2 separate regions of the Homo sapiens genome follow, and region 1 is linked to region 2. Evidence: promoter capture Hi-C in 16 types of primary human blood cells and fetal thymus (Javierre and others, 2016). All regions are on one chromosome and are shown on one strand. The core of a region is centred on a gene start or on the middle of the fragment in contact, and the rest is flanking DNA. Distances in the headings are between cores, read along the strand shown. Region 1 overlaps FAM162A (family with sequence similarity 162 member A). Region 2 holds the start of PARP15 (poly(ADP-ribose) polymerase family member 15).

Evidence for each region. Contacts are between HindIII fragments. The CHiCAGO score rates a contact against its expected background, and 5 or more counts as called.
Region 1: a fragment that was not itself captured here is called in contact with the fragment with the promoter of PARP15 in region 2 in 1 of 17 cell types (activated CD4 T cells); the score reaches 5.2 in activated CD4 T cells.

The regions. Positions count from the first base shown.
Region 1 is chr3:122,389,349-122,394,099 of GRCh38, reverse strand. All of the region lies in intron 1 of FAM162A (family with sequence similarity 162 member A), which reads right to left. Among named protein-coding and RNA genes, the nearest start is that of FAM162A, 7.5 kb to the right of the region's middle. The HindIII fragment of the contact is 3,218 bases long and covers 984-4,201 here.
Region 2 is chr3:122,575,547-122,580,315 of GRCh38, reverse strand. It overlaps PARP15 (poly(ADP-ribose) polymerase family member 15), which reads right to left and starts at 2,666. Exons shown (of 12, transcript NM_001113523.3): 1 at 2,463-2,666. The coding sequence starts at 2,648. RefSeq lists a silencer at 2,310-2,359 and enhancers at 2,420-2,699, 4,234-4,283. The HindIII fragment of the contact is 6,929 bases long and covers 1-4,769 here.

The sequences.
Region 1 (4,751 bases), core at 1,343-3,842, 190 kb after region 2:
TTGCTCTGGACATGTGACATGCCAGCTCCCCCTTCGCCTTCCACCATGATTGTAAGTTTCCTAAGGCCTCCCTAGAAACTTGACAAATGCCAGTATCATGTTTCCTGTACAGCCTGAAGAACGATGAACCAATTAAACTGCTTTTCTTTATAAATTACCTAGTCGTAGGTATTTCTTTTTAGCAATGCGAGACTGGCCTAACACACCTTCCATTCGTGCTCGGACAGAGACTAAATGTGAGGTGAGAGCTTAGAGACCTCTCAGGTTTTTCCTGGAAAATGTGTCCAACCTTACACATATTACATTCTAGAAATATGTCAGAGCTTTCCAGATGTCAGGATGGACATCTCATTCCCCAGCTTCTTGTTTGACCCAGCTGTTACCCACTCCATGTTATGTCAAACAAGTGCTGCTGATTATTTTCAACAAATGCACCAGGGAAAACACTGTTTGCAGTGAATAAACTCCAAGTCAGGTGAAAAAAGATAAGCCCTGTGAGTGGGGTTTCCAGCGAACTGTCAGACAAGTCAAATAGTAACAATTCTCTGCAGCTGGAAGTTTTGGAAAACTCTTAAACCCATTCTGCCTTCTTCAGTGCCTGCAAGGCTGCTGGTTTTCAAAGTAACTGTGATTTGTGAGGCTGTTGGTTTTCAAGACTATTGTGAAGCTGAAAGAAGACAGGAATAAAGCAAGTTAAAACTCCACAAAACTTGCTGTCCTACCACGATTTCAGGCTTTTTTTTTTGGATAAATGCTCCTCAGATTGTCACAAATGCCTGGTAATTTTCCAGAGTTCTGGAAAAGTTGCTTCTGCCAACTTCTGGCAGTGTTATCATTGCTTTTGGGTAAAAATGGATTTTCAGAGGTCCTTACTCTTGACACACCAGAAGTTGGAATCTCTATTTGTGGTTACCTGGCACACAGTCTTTTTCATAAAAGGCCTCATTTATTTTGTTTTCTAGGGCTATAAATGCCAGAAAGCTTTGCCTGGATCTGGCAAACACAACATCAGTGCCACCTAGTGGAAAGGAGATAAATTAACTGCTTTTAGCTTGTTTCCTCATTTAAAATGTGGATAATGCAGTGTTTCTTGTACCAAAGTTGATTTGAGGGTTAAATGGAAAAGCAAATATGGGAGCATCTGGTAAGATGCTTGAAACACAGCAGGCTCTCTAACTGTTAAGTTTATTTTTTTTTTGAAATATTATGTAAAACATTAACTTTGATAAAACTTCTAGAACACTTTTCAATTTTACCCCTAATGTGGTCAGGATTTCTGACAAAGTTAATTATGCAGTTATGAGGCCATGGGAAAAGTCTATGAAACTCTTCAATAGATTTTCATAGCACTCAGGATTAAGACACAATTATTAAATCCTGTGATCTTCAAATTTTAGTGTTTTAGTGTTTGGTGTGAATCAGAGGAATGCCTTGTTAAAACACAAATCATGAGGCTGTCTACCTCCAGTTTCTGCATCCACAGTTCTGGAATGGAGGCTGGGAATTCGCATTTCTAACAAGTTCCTAGGTGATGCTGCTATGCTGGTTCTGGACTATACTTTGAGAACCTAGGCTTTTCTCTCCCCTAAGATGTGGTTAAATATACATAACATAAAATTTACCATTTTAATTATTTTAAGTGTACAATTCAGTGGCATTAAGTACATTTACACTGCTGTGCAACTATTACTACTATCCATCTCCAGGACTTTTTCATCTCCCCAGAGAACCACTGGTTTAATGTGACCTACAAGGCCCCATCTCACACAATGCTATCCCATTCCTCCTTTGGCAGGCACTTACAAAAGGAACAAGGTTAACCGGCAGCAAGCTAGAAGGACTCTGCTCTTTAAACAGAAAAAGAATCAATAATTATTTCCTAAGACAGCTGTCCTTTCCCATTCCTCCTAATTATAGAACAAAGGCAGTTTAGGAGAACAGAAGACAAACTGCCTCTCAGCTAGCTCAGTTTGAGAAATAATAAAGCAAAAAATGCTAACATGTATACCTACTATCAGTGACATCGATGTATGTTGGAGTAATTCATTCAACAAAGTACTTCCTATGTGCCAGGCATTGTTTTAGGCAATATATAAAAAAGATAAAAATCTGTGCCAATAGAACTTGCATTCTACTGGGGAGAAAGTTATACATATGTTAGATACTAAGTGCCAGAGAGAAAAAAATAAACAATGGGGACATGAAGTATGTGTTTGGAATGGGCTGTGTATGAAATTTTACATAGAGTAGTTAGGAAGTCCTCTGTGAGAATGTCACTCTTGAAGGGAAGCAAGGGCTAGCTATGCAGCTATCTGGTGGAAGAATATTCCAAACAGAAAGAATTATAAATGCAAAGACCCTAAAAGATTCTAGAGCCCATAAAGAGAAGGCCAGTATGGCCAGAACAGAATGAATAATGGGAAGACAAGTAGAATTTGATGTGAGAGAGGTACTGAGGTAGTTATGGAGGGTAAGGACTTGGAGACATGAGAGGTTCACCTAGATCAGACTGTATCTCCCAACTTTTTCTTACTACAACTTCATATTGTATGCTAATAACTTTTACCTCCCTACAGTATAAATGCTGATTAAAACATACACACATATTATCTTATTATAGATATTAGAATAATAGACTAATGTAAATATATTTTTTTAAAGATGAGGTCTTGCTTTAAAAATATTTTTAAAAATGTTATCACTACATAGTGAAACCCCACCTCTACAAAAAATACAAAAACTAGCTGGGCGCAGTGGCATGTGCCTGTGGTCCCAGCTACTCAGGAGGCTGAGGCAGAAGGGTGGCTTGAGCCCTGGAGGCAGAGGTTGCAGAGAGCTGAGATCATGCCACTGCACTTCAGCCTGGGCGATAATGCCAGACCTTCTCTCAAAAATAAAATAAAATAAAATTTTAAATTTTAAAAAGTTATCGCTAAAAAATGTCTGAAGTATTTGATGTGGTCTTGGTTTTTATTTTGCAATTATAACAACATGAAAGCATAAACAAACTTTAATATCATTACTAAGACCTTCGTTTTCTCTCAAAGAGACAGAATATATTGACCAGACGTCCAAGCCAGAAATTTTCCATCCTCTGGTGGATCACGATTAAAAACATACAAACCAAAAGAAAAACAGCCCTTTAACCCTCTAGCTGGACTTAACAGCTTGTCCCTGGCTGACCAATTCTGTGTCTCCAGGGCCCTAGCAGGAAGTTAAGATGAAGCCTCACAGCTGTCTCTAAGGCTCTGGGTGGCAAACGGCTAATCTTAAGAGTAAAGGTTCTTAACTTTTTTATCTATCGAAATCACCTGGGGGACCCTGTGAAACAGATTACTGGACCCAACTGATACAGTCAGTATGGACAGAACCTGAGAATGTGCACTTCTAACAATTGCCCAGGTAATGGTGAAACTTCTGCTATGGGGGACCCATAATCTGAAAACCAGTGCCTTAGAAATATCATTGCTAGCTGGAGGCTATAGTGGTCAGCCAGGGTGAGGCTGGTTGAAGTACCAGCTTCTCTCCTGGTAGTCCCCTCCTTTCCATAAATATCCTTTCCAACCCCATGATAGACAGTGAGGAAAGGTAGGGATGCTTTTTCTTTCTCAGAATCTTTCAAGGTCCTCTTGGAGAAAACCATAGGTGATGTGACTGGAGATATGACAACTCTCTGGGAATCAGAGAATCAATATTACAACCCACTCCCCAGAGTGTCTATCTGAAACTCTCTAGGCCTTAGCTGTTGACCTGGGCTTTGTGACAGAAACAGACTCCCTATATCCGTTTTCTCATCCTTCCCTGCAGGCTTGAAGAAATACCAGTCTTCCTTTATTCTTAAGTAGTAATCCCTCTGCTGAGGGATGTCGTACCAAACTTATCCTTATTTTCCACTGCCTTTTTCCTGCCAAATGTTATCTCCCCCATCTTTAAAATCAAAACTAAAAAACTTATTTTTTTTTTTAGAGACAAGGTCTCACTTTGTCACCTAGGGTAAAGGGCAGTGGAGAGATCATAGCTCACTGTAACTTTGAACCGGGCTCAAGCGATCCTCCTGTATCATCTTCTGGAGTAGTTGGGACCACAGGCAGATGCCACCATGTCTAGCTAATTAAAAAAATTTGTTTTGTAGAGATCGGGTCTCACTATGTAAAAACCTTTGTACCACCAAGTTGTTACACACCATGTTATGTAAAAAGCTTTTAGTAAAACAAACTTTAAATGATAAAAGTAACACTTGCTCATTACAGAAAATTTGGAAGTTAAAAAAAGATGTGAAGAAAAATAAAAGCACTCATAATCATAGCACTTAGGGATAACAACTTGGTGCATTAATATTTCTTTTCAGACCTTTCCTATACTTACATAAAACATATACATTTTTCATAATCAGATAATACTGTATCTTGCTATGTCACAAATACTTTCCAAGATATTAATACTTTTAATAGCTGTATAAAACCCGACACACAGCTATAATCTGAATGTAGTAATTCCCTACAACTTGATTTCTTTCCAATTTTTCAGTGTTATAAGTAATGTTTCAATGAACAGTTCTCTACATACATCTTTGATGGTATTTCTGATTATTTCCTTAGAATAAAATCCTGGAAGTGAAGGGTAAAAGGGTATGAACCCCTTTAAGTTTCCATCTATCTATCTCATCTATCTATCTATCTATCTATCTATCTATCTATCTATCTATCTATCTATCTATCCATCTATACTACTTTCCAGAAAGGCTGACTACT
Region 2 (4,769 bases), core at 1,417-3,916:
AAGCAAAATTGAGAGAACTCCGAGGAGAAAATAAACAAATCCACAATTATAGTTGGAGATTTCATCATCCTCTCTAAATAATTGATAGAACAAGTAGACATAAAATCAGTAAGGACATGAGGACTTGAACAACAACCAACTCCACCTAATTGACATTTATAGAACACTCTATCCAATGAGAGAATGTACTTTGTTTTCAAGTGTGCTTGGAAATTTACCAAGATAGATCATATTGTGTCCATAAGACAAATGTCTCTGTGTGTGTGTGTGCGCGCGTGCATATATATATATATATATATATATATATATATATATACATATAGTTGCTGTTGTTGTTCAGACAGAGTCTTGCTCTGTCACCCAGGCTGGAGTGCAGTGGCGCAATCTCAGCTCACTGCAACCTCTGCCTCCCAGGTTCCAGCAATTCTCCTACCTCAGCCTCTTGAGTAGCTGGGACTACAGGTGTGTGCCACCATGCCTGGCTAATTTTTGTATTTTTAGTAGAGACGAGGTTTCACCATGTTCGCCAGGCTGATCTTGAACTCCTGACCTCAAGTGATCCACCTACCTTGGCCTCCCAAAGTGCTGGGATTACAGGCGTGAGCCACCGCGACCGGCCCTCAATACATAGATTTTAAAGAATTCAAATAATGAAAAATATGTTTTCTGACCACAATGAAATTTAACTATTAATAGAAAGCAGTAGCAAATTAGTGATACCTAAGGCTCCAAAGACTCTCTGCTGAATGATTTCATGTACATGACGTTCTGGAACTACAGGGACCAAAAGATGACCCTAGTGGTTGCCAGGAGCTCATCTTGAGTGAAGAGGTTGAAGACAAAGAAACTGGTAGAAAACTCTTTTATATCTTCATTATACTGGTAAACATTTGTCAAAACTCACAGAAGTATACACTAAAAAGTATGAATTTTCTAAATATAGAAAAGCTGTCTGTAAATTACACCTTAATTTTTAAAATGAAAGAAAACATCAAAGCATACATACACGTAAATAGACAACATAGCGAATGAGTAAACCTCATATATAATATTGAGAAAAAAGAAAAATTGAAATGTTTTATGTGAAGATAACTATAAACCTTCTTTAAAGACACAAAAATAGACTTAAACAATGAAAAGGCATCCTTTGTTTCGCTTCCTTTTCTATGTGCTTCAAAACATTCCTTCATAATGGAGATTTCATTGGTTGTGTCGAGGATCAGTACACAGATATTTCAATTTGTACACTATTCTTAACATACACACACAAAAAAGTTTAAAAAGTCATGTATTGTAATTGTTTTTAAAAGTTATTCTAGTGACTTTCCAGCTTAAAATTTGGAGGCAAATTTTCCTTAAGAGGATATGAAGTACCAGTATCTACAATTGTTGAAAAGCTGTTACATATGTCCCACCAATTCACAATTTAATATCATATACATTACATACTCAAATTTTCAATCTTTCACAGCACAGTAGGTTAGACCATGTCAACACCACCTAAAGATATCAGCTCTCTGTAATTTATTAATTTAATGCAATCCCAATAAAAATTCCAAAGAGCTTTTCTTTTTTTTTTTTAAACTGATCATACATCAGAAAAGTTCATAAGGAAAAATAAACAACAAGAATAGCTAGGAAAATAGTGACAAGGAAGCACTCTCTAGGAAGACTAGCCCTGACATTAAAACATACAGCAAAGCCTCTCTAAAGCAGATGAATAAACGGGTCAATGGATGAAAATAGAAGGTCCAGAAATACCCGAACCACATATGAAAGTCTAGTACATGATAAAGCTGGTATCTCAAGTTACTGGGACAGTGACGACCTTTATAATAAATGGTGTTGGGACACTTGATACCCATTTGAAAAAAAATAATTAGATTCACTCCTCAAACCACACACAATAACACACTCCAAATGTATTATAGATCTAAATGTAAAAAATACATCAGTTCAAGTACTAGAAGCAAGCATGAGTGAACTCTTCTATAACTTGGGTGTAGGGAAGAGTATGACTAAAAGTCATATATTAAAATATGACTAAAAGTCTAGACGTCATAAAATAAAAGACTGGTAAGTCTTGCCACACAAAATTTAAAATATTTGCATGGCAAAGAGAAACAAAAGCCCCCCATAAGCAAACTCAAAAAACAAAAAATAAATTGGGAGGACATATTCATAACACATATCACGAATAAAGGACTCATATCCTTTCAAACTTTATAAAGAACTTTTAAATTTTAAGGGAAAAAAAAAAAAAACCACCAGAAATGCTAAGGAAAAAGAAGCAGCACGCATCCCCCTCTTCCGGAACAGGGAAGTCAGTGTAGTCGGCGCCCCCTAGAAGAGAGGGTTGTGCGTGGCGTGGGGTCTCTGCGCCCGCTCGGGCTGCTGGGTCTTGCGGGCCCCAGGCTCAGCCCTGCTGTCCCCTTCCCGCACCCGTCCCCCGCGCTCCTCACCATACTCCGGGAGGAAGAGCGCCGGGAGGCCTTCCGCGCCCCACGGTTCCCGGCCGGCAGCACGCTCCCCGCCTCCCGATCTCGTCCGGCTCTGGAAGTAACACCTGCAACTCCGTGCATAAGTTCTCTGGGGGTCGGAGCCCCTGGACTCAGAGCAGCGGCAGGAAGGGGGCCTGGCGCAGCCATCCTCAGCTCGCTGGGACTGCAGTTGCGCCCCACCCAACAGGCTTGTGCCTCGAACTTCTTTTCTCTGAAAACCGCTTCCGTCAAAGATTGAGGCCTCGAGTTTGCGAACAGCTGCCTCAGGATTGTGTCGCCCTTTGGGACAGACGTTACTGCCAGACAAATCCTGGGTCAAAATCCTGAGGTCTGCAATTTTATTAGTTATGTAGCCTCAGTCAATAGCATCTGTACAGTGGGCACAGCCATAACTATTTCATGTTATTATAATGAAGATTAAATGAGATAAAGTCTGTAGAATGCCTGGCACATTAAAACACAGGAATCAGTATTCCTTTCCTTTTCTGTTGGGCATCCCACTCCTTTCCCCCCAATTCTCCCTACACACCCATATTTAGAAAAATACACTGGGTTCTCTCCTGTGCTCCCTAAGCCAGGGCTGGAGTCAGGTTCCCCTCTGGCCCAACAGGGCATTATTTAATTCAATCAACGCGTATTGAAGGCCTTTGATATGCCTGGCACTGTGTTAAGATTATAAAGATGAATTAGACACAGATCCCCTCTCTTTGGAGTGAGGGGTGAAGTAGGAGGTGGAGAAATAAAACATAGATTAATACTGTTACCTGGTGTATCACGAAAAGTCCTGGCAGTATACAGATGGTATACTCAAAATTAATAATTGAAGATAATTTAATAAAGAAATTATTTACACAGGTGTGGGCAAAGGGTTAAGGAAACCATTGAGAGATGGTGAAGTAGCCTCCTCCCCTTACCATCTAGGCTGAAGGGGCAAGGGAGGGGGCATCTCCTGAACTTGGTAAGAGCTATACCAAGTGCCAGCAGGTAGAACCCATGACTGCTTTCGGAAGACAGCCAGGGGAGTATAAGCATCCCAAGTACTCTCTCCGTGTGCCTTCCAATCTCGTGCTGGTACCTCCCACTGCAGAACCCAATGAGTAATCAGAGAATGGAGCTGATGTGGTACTTAGAGGTCAGCCCTCAGTACCACCTCCAAGGCAGAGAGCAGGGTAAAAGGTTTTGGTATCGTATTTGCATTGAGATACATATAAAGTATTAGGATAACAGAAATCAGTGGTTCGTTGTAATTTAGAGACAAGATTGGAGAAAAGTTTCTATAGTAGTGGCATTTCAGTAAGACCTTGCATGATGAGTAGGGGACTTTCTAAGAGGAAAATCAGGTGAAGAATGAGAATGAGGTGTGTCTCTCTCTCCCTCTCTCTCTTCAGAGTTCCCTTTTTCATCATCTGTCATGCAGAGAGCAGCGATGGGGGTGGATTACACAGAACAAAGATCACATGAATGAAAGCATAGACTGTGCTTTGGAAAATCTTGTAGTCTGGTGTGACTGAACCCTAGGGACTTGGTGGTGAGGAAGGAGCACAAAGTATGCAAAGTGGCATGAGCAATCGCTAACGGCCATGCTGCTGAGTTTAAACTCTATTTTCTAGGCCAGTGGATCTCTAAATGTAATTCCCAGACCAGCAACATCAGGTTCATTGTGAAGCAGTAACCAGGGTGATAACCCCTAGCACCGCGTTACATTACATCTTACTTTGCCTCACTTCTCTTTTTGTTTGTCCTTGGGCTTGGACCTCCAAAATTATTAATATCTTAATCTTTGCATCAAGCTCTATGTTTTAGATCTGATCAATAAAAATGACCCAATCGATAAAAAAGGAAATAGCACCTAACTTCTGTATGGAAATCAAACCAAAAACAGTACTAAACATTTTTTTTTTTTTTTGAGACAGAGTCTCGCTCTGTTGCCCAGGCTGGAGTGCAGTGGCCTGATCCCAGCCTACTGCAACCTCTGCCTCCTGGGTTCAAGCAATTCTCATGCCTCAGCCTCCGGAATAGCTGGGATTACAGATGTGTACCACCATGCCTGGATAATTTTTGTAAACACTAAACTATTACGGTAAGTGTAAGGAAGTCCAATAAAGATCTTATTTTTCTCCTAATGATTACTTTGATGCTATTTTCAGGGAAGCATCAAATATGTATTATTCTTTTATTTTATTTTTTCTTTGGAGAGAAGGGTGCCCCTGATCTAATAGTGCTCAATGACCTGTCTGGGTACTTCAGCACCAATGTTGGAGAGGTGAA